2 separate regions of the Homo sapiens genome follow, and region 2 is linked to region 1. Evidence: promoter capture Hi-C in human tissues and cell types (Jung and others, 2019). All regions are on one chromosome and are shown on one strand. Each heading gives the region's core, a stretch centred on a gene start or on the middle of the fragment in contact. The rest is flanking DNA. Distances are from core to core; before and after follow the strand shown. Region 1 holds the start of SLC1A5 (solute carrier family 1 member 5). Region 2 has its middle 12 kb from the start of C5AR1.

Region 1 (3,632 bases), core at 596-3,095:
TGGTCCTCTTCTGGGCTGCCTGCTAGGGGGTGGCCCAGACAGAGGAGGAAACGGGAGGGAAAGGCAGGGGTGGCAGGGCTGATCTAAAAGATAAAGGGGAAGCGGCCAGACCCCAGCTGAAATGGGCGGGAAGCGGAGGCCAAAAACAGAGCCTGGTTATGTCCGAGTGACACGTGGTGTGGGGGTGCCCCAGGGCTGGGAAGAGGGCCTGGTGGGAGTTACTCAGATCTCAGATCCTCCAGGGGCTCCTTACCCAAACTCTCCAACCCTGGCCCCAAATTATATCTAGAAGCCCCATCTTGGGGCCCTTGACCACGCAAAGATTCCCCCCGCAAAAGTTCCTCCTGGGGTCCCCTCCCCTCAGTGTCTTTCTCCCCTAGGCAGACCCTCCTATGTCTCCCCAAATCACTTTCTTCTCCCTCTATAAGACCCCACTTATGTACCCAGGCCCCCAGATTTAGAAACCCCTTCCCCAGGAGACTAGACTCACACTCCCGAGGGCTGGAGCCTCCCCTCAATATCCTGTCGAGTTTTCCTAAGACTCTAGAGGGAAGTCTCTGCTCCAGGGGCCCCAAAGCCCCGTCCTGTCCACGTGACCACTCCCGCCATCCGTAACACTCTTCCCCACCTCCCGGGGGAGCGGGAGCTGACCTCGCAAGATCCAGGAACGAATCGAGCACCTCCTTGCTGGGGGCATTTTCGGCACTGCCCGCGGCTCCCACGGAGGCGTTGATGGCGGCGGAGGCGGCGCCCGGCTGCAGAGCCAGCGCCAAGCCCACTCCGAGCGCCGACGCCAGCAGCGTGGTGACCAGGAAAAAGAGCAGCGCCCAGGCGCCCAGACGGCCGAGCGCGCCGGGGTCCAGGCTGGCGGCGCCGCCGATCAAGCTGCACACCACCAGCGGCAAGATGATCATCCGCAGCAGACGCAGCAGCAGCTCGCCCGGGAAGACGAAGGCGCTCAAGCGCTCCGGGCCCAACGCCAGCGCACCCCCGGCCCCCGACACCCCCAGTCCCAGCGCCACGCCGGCCACCACGGCCACCACTGTCAGCAGCACAAGCAGGTTGGCTCGAAGGCAGCGGCGCACCTGGTCCCGGGAACCGCAGTAGCCGCCTGCTGCCGCGCCTTGGTCCTCGATGGAGGCCAGCGCCAGGCCCCCGTTGGCGGTGGGCTCCGCCGCTGCGAGCCCCTTGGAGTCTCGAGGAGGATCGGCCACCATGATGGGAAGCACCGGGGTTTCTTAGCGCCTGGAAGCTGGCTGGGAGCGCTTGGGCTCCTTCCCAGGACCCGACGTTCCTAGGACTGAGTTGAGTAACAGCACCTGGAGACTGGAACTTTGGAGGGCTCCTTAGAGTTGTGAGTTCACAGCACTGAAGTTCCTTGGCTCTTGGAAGCTGGAGTGTTTAAATTCCCCAGGCTGGGCGCTGAGGCTTCTCTGCTCTGCCCCGTGTGCCAGATGTCCGAAAGCTGGGAGTTCGGAGCGCCCGGGTTCCTTGGCCCTAGGAGCTGGGAATACGAGAGTTTCTCTGGGTGGGACGTGGGGCCCTTGGCTCCAGGAGGTTGAGTGCCCCCAGATGGCGGAGGTCTGCAGGAGGCTAGGTTCTGGTGGCGCAGATCCCGGACGCCTGGATCCGGGAGGCGGGGACCCGGGCTGCCTGGGTCTTGGACACTGAGGGCTGGGATGCCAGAATCTGGGGGCCGGGAAGCGGACCTCCGGAAACAGGGGACCCAGGCTCTTAGGTCCGGGAGGGTGGGATGCGGGCCCCTGTGTACGGAAGGCGGTGGTCTGGTGTCCGGGAGTAGCGGTTACCAGCCAGAGAAAGCCTCCCGGGCGTGCCGCGTGGCTCTGAGCCCGTTTAGCGGAAGCTGCCAGGGATAAGGGTAGGGGGCGGGGCTTGAGAAGGCGGGGACCGACCCTCGGGCGCCGATTGGCTGCAGAGCGTTCGGAGACTGGACGAGTAGGGGCGGGGCTGATACCCGAGATGGGCCAGGTCCCCCATAGAAGGCAGATTAATAATACCCATCTCCAGGAGCCGGGCCCAGAGACGACGGGGCGGGGCCAGGAAGGGGCGGGGCCTTGGGAGGGTGCTGTTTCCCGCCAAAGGAACTGGGTTGTGGGTTGGAGCCCTTAAACCACAGGGGTTCGTTCCCTGGTGCGAGGGTCGCTAGAAAGCTCCGGTGGTCCTCGGTGATTCATTTGCAACTCAACTCAGCTTTGGAACTCCTCAGCCCTGAGTTTGGTCTTTAGTCGCCTCTGAGAACTTTAATTCCTCGAATATAAAGTGCAGGTGTTAAAAGCTTTTGTCTCATATGATTGCTGTAAGATTTAAATAAAATTGATGTATTTATTTAGGGAGCCGTGGCTCAAGCCTGTAATCCCACCACTTTGGGAGGTGAAGCGGGCGGATCACTTGAGGTCAGGAGGTCGAGACCAGCCTGGCCAACATGGTGAAACCCGTCTCTACTAAAAATACAAAAATTACCTGGTGTGGTGGCACGTGCCTGTAATCCCAGCTACTGGAAGCCTGAGGCAGGAGAATCGCTTGAACCCCAGAGGCAGAGGAAGTCATTCACCTTGAGGCCACACCTAGAGAGGATGACACGTGCATGCCCACCTCCCAAGCCCCTAACCGCACCCACTCTGCTGCCTCCCCAAATTCTCTGTTAGTGGCCGTTTGGGAGGTTAACAATGAATTATGATTCCTTACTCCACCTGACAGTGTTGAAATCCTCATTCCTTTCCCATCTCTAGCCTGTTCTGTGACATTTCAGGCTTTCATGCTTGCTCAAAGATTGTAGTGGTAATGTCAGAAGCTTCCTCCTACAGCAGCTGTGAGGCCTCAGGTAATTTACAACCTCTATGAGGCTCAGTCTTCATATGTGTAAATGGGAATAATAATAAGTCATACCGCCTTGAGTGTTGCAAGGGTTCAAATGAGATAATACGGCCGGGCGCAGTGGCTCACGCCTGTTATCCCACCACTTTGGGAGTTGATGCGGGCAGATCACTTGAGGTCAGGAGTTCCAGACGAGCCTGGCCAACATGGCAAAACCCTGTCTCTGCTGAAAATGCAAAAATTAGCTGGGTGTGGTGGCACATGCCTGTAATCCCAGCTACTCAGGAGGCTGAGGCAGAAGAATTGCTTGAATCCAGGAGGCAGAGGTTGCGAAGAGCCGAGATCTCACCACTGCACTCCAGCCTGGGTGACAGAGTGAGACTCCACCTCAAAAAAAAAAAAGTTATTTATTTGTGCTTTAAAATTTTTTGTTCTTTCTCTCTTCTTTTGTTTCTAACAAAAATGCCCTTCAGAAGAAAGTCAAATACTACTGCTGCGATTGCTGTTATTGTTATTATTACTGAAGAACAAGCTGGATTCAGTGGCATGCACCTGTAGTCCCAGGTATTTGGGAGGCTAAAGCAGGAGGATCCCTTGAGGCCAGGAGTTCAAGGCTGCAGTGAGCTATGATCGTGCCCACATTTAGCCACTAGACTCCATCCGGGGCAACATAGTGAGACCTTATCTTTAAAAACATGAAAATAGGCCAGGCATGGTGGCTCATGTCTGTAATCTCAGCACTTTGGGAGGCCAGAGTGGGCAGATCATGAGGTCAGGAGATCGAGACCATCCTGGCC
Region 2 (3,479 bases), core at 304-2,803, 510 kb after region 1:
TACAAATTGCTTATTTCCAAGAAAACATCTCTGCCGTGCTTTCAGATTTTCAGCTGATTACAAATCACGCACCCATGATCAAATCCAACAAGAGATAGACCCCCTGCCATAAAGGAAGAAGGCTGGCTGGGTGTAGTGGCTTATGACTGCAATCCCAGTGCTTTGGGAGGCTGAGGCAGGAGGATCTCCGAGGCCAGCAGTTCAAGACCAGCTTGAGCAATATAGCGAGACACCCCCTCATCTCTCCAATAATAATAAAAAAAATCAGCCAGGCATGGTGGCGCGTGCCTGTAGTCCAATCTACTCGGGAGGCTGAAGTGGGAAGATTGCTCCAGGAGTTCGAGTCTGCAGTTGGCTGAGATCTCGCCACTGCACTCCAGCCAGGGCGGTAGAGCCAAACCTTGTCTCAATAAAATCTCCACAAGGGGGCGCCATCTACATGATGATAGCAGGAAGGGAACCGGCCAGTGTCTCCTGGTGACGTACTCATTCAGCGCTTCTTATACCTTAAAGGTGACCAGGAATCACCTGGGGGTCTTGTTAAAATGCAGGTTCTAATTCAGCAGGGCTGGAGCAGGACCACAGCTCTTGCATTTCCCTCCCTCCTTCCTTCCTTCCTCCCTCCCTCCCTCCCTTCCTCCCTCCCTCCCTCCCTTCCTTCTCTTTCTTCTTTCTTTCCTTCTCTCTCTCTCTCTCTTTTTTTTTTTTTGACAGAGTCTCGCTCTGTCACCCAAGCTGGAGTGCAGTGGTGTGATCTCGGCTCACTGCAGCCTTCACCTCCTGGGTTCAAGCAGTTCTCCTGCCTCAGCCTTCCGAGTAGATGGTGTCAGGCCTCTGAGCCCAAGCTAAGCCATCATATCCCCTGTGATCTGCACGTATACATCCAGATGGCCTGAAGTAACTGAATAATCACAAAAGGAGTGAAAATGGCCTGTTCCTGCCTTAACTGATGACATTCCACCACAAAAGAAGTGAAAATGGCCAGTCCCTGCCTTAACTGATGACATTACCTCGTGAAATTCCTTCTCCTGGCTCATCCTGGCTCAAAAGCTCCACCACTGAGCACCTTGTGACCCCCCACCCCTGCCAGCCAGAGAACAACCCCCTCTGACTGTAATTTTCCTTTACCTACCCAAATCCTATAAAACAGCTCCACCCCATCTCCCTTCGCTGACTCCCTTTTTGGACTCAGCCCTCCTGCACCCAGGTGATTAAAAGCTTTATTGCTCACACAAAGCCTGTTTGGTGGTGTCTTCACACGGACGCGAGTGAAAGATGGGATCACAGGCCCCCACCACCACGCCCAGGTAATTTTTTGTATTTTTAGTAGAGACAGGGTTTCACTATGTTGGTCAGGCTGGTCTCGAACTCCTGGCCTCAGGCAGTCTACCTGCCTTGGCCTCCCAAAGTGCTGGATTACAGGCGTGAGCCACTGCGCCCCGCCAAGATCTTGCATTTCTAACATGTCCAGGAAGCTTGATGATGCGGATCGAGAAAACACACTTTGGTAGCGAGGGGGCTATGGCCTTAAAGTTGGGTAACTGAAGGGGACTCCCCACCTGGACCCGTTTGCCCTGTTCCTCAAGCCAGCTCAGGTTAGCATCTTCATTATTTTATTATTTGTATTTTTTTTGAGACAGAGTCTTGTTTTGTCACTCAGGCTGCAGTACAGTGGTGCAATCTCTGCTCACTGCAGCCTCCACCTCCCGGGTTGAAGTGATTCTCCTGCCTCAGCTTCCTAAATAGCTGGGATTACAGGCACCCGCCACCACTCCCAGCTAATTTTTGTATTTTTAGTAAAGATGGAGTTTAGCCATGTTGGCCAGGCTGGTCTTGAACTCCTGACCTCAAGTGATCTCCCCACCTCAGCCTCCCAAAGTGTTGAGATTACAAGCATGTGCCACCATGCCCATCTAATTTTTTTTTTTTTTTTTTTTTTTTTTTTTTTTTTGAGACGGAGTCTTGCTCTGTTGCCCAGGCTAGAGTGCAGAGGTGCGATCTTAGCTCACTGCAAGTTCTGCCTCCCAGGTTCATGCCATTCTCCTGCCTCAGCCTCCCGAGTAGCTGGGACTACAGGCACCCGCCACCATGCCCGGCTAATTTTTTTGTATTTTTAGTAGAGATGGGGTTTCACCATATGAGCCGGGATGGTCTCGATCTCCTGACCTCGTGATCTGCCCGCCTCAGCCTCCCAAAGTGCTGGGATTAAGGTGTGAGCCACTGTGCCCGGCCAATTTTTGTATTTTTAATCAAGACAGGGTTTCGCCATGTTGGCCAGGCTGGTCTCAAACTCAAGGCCTCGAGCAATCCTCCTACCTCGGCCTTCAAAGTGCTGAGATTATAGGTGTGAGTCCCTGCATCTGGTTCTAACTGTATTTTTGTACCCATTAACCCATTTTTCTTTATGTCTCCCTCCCACCTTCCCTTCTCAGCCTCAGGTAAGCAACATTCGACTCGAATCACACTCTTAAACACTTACAACTTTAGAATTAGAGAATTCTAGAATTTTCAGTGTAATAATATCAGCTTCCATTCTGTATTTTTTTTTTTTTTTAGTTGTTTTAGAGACACAGTCTTACTCTGTTGCCCAGGCTGGAGTGCAGTGGCACAATCACAGCTCACTGCAGCTGGTCGGATAACTCCTGGGCTCAAGTGATTCTTCCACCTCGGCCTCCTGAGTAGCTGGGACTACAGGTGTGTGCTACTGTGCCTGGCTAATTTAAAACAATTTTTTTTTTGAGACGGAGTCTTGCTCTGTTGCCCAGGTTGGAGTGCAGCGGTGCAATCTCGGCTCACTGCAAGCTCCGCCTCCTGGATTCATGCCATTCTCCTGCCTCAGCCTCCCGAGTAGCTGGGACCACAGGCGCCCACCACCACGCCCGGCTAATTTTTTGTATTTTTAGTAGAGACGGGGTTTCACCGCGTTAGTCAGGATGGTCTCGATCTTCTGACCTCATGATCCGCCCACCTCGGCCTCCCAAAGTGTTGGGATTATAGGCGTGAGCCACCGCGCCTGGCCAAAAACAATTTTTTTCTGTAGAAATGGGGTCATGCTATGTTGGCCTGGCTGGTCTCGAACTCCTGAGCTCAGTGATCCTCCCACCTCAGCCTCCCAAAGTGCTGGGATTACAGGTATGAACCACCACGCCTGGCCTCCATTCTGCATTCTGTGAGCTTGCACGTCTCATCTCCACCTACTTTGTTGGTTATGAAGGCTTAGAAGAGCCCCTGGTCCTGAGCAAGCACTATGATTATTACTATTATTTTAAAATTATTATTATTATTTTTGAGATGGAGTTTCGCTCTGTTCGCCCAGGCTGGAGTGCAATGGCGACATCTCGGCTCATTGCAACCTCTGCCTCCTGGGCTCAAGTGATTCGCCTGCCCCAGCCTCCCCAGTAGCTGGGATTACAGGTGCGTGACACCATGCTTGGCTGATTTGTGTATTTTATTTATTTATTTATTTTGAGACGGAGTCT

Evidence for each region. Contacts are between HindIII fragments. The study calls those that stand out against the background at their distance.
Region 2: a contact is called between a fragment that was not itself captured here and the fragment with the promoter of SLC1A5 in region 1, in 1 of the 25 tissues and cell types used here (H1 embryonic stem cells).

The regions. Positions count from the first base shown.
Region 1 is chr19:46,786,749-46,790,380 of GRCh38, forward strand. It overlaps SLC1A5 (solute carrier family 1 member 5), which reads right to left and starts at 1,846. Exons shown (of 8, transcript NM_005628.3): 1 at 652-1,846. The coding sequence starts at 1,217. RefSeq lists silencers at 924-973, 984-1,033, 2,004-2,163 and enhancers at 1,514-2,115, 1,764-2,058. The HindIII fragment of the contact is 6,368 bases long and covers 1-2,554 here.
Region 2 is chr19:47,295,886-47,299,364 of GRCh38, forward strand. No RefSeq gene overlaps it. Among named protein-coding and RNA genes, the nearest start is that of C5AR1, 12 kb to the right of the region's middle. The HindIII fragment of the contact is 3,838 bases long and covers 1-3,472 here.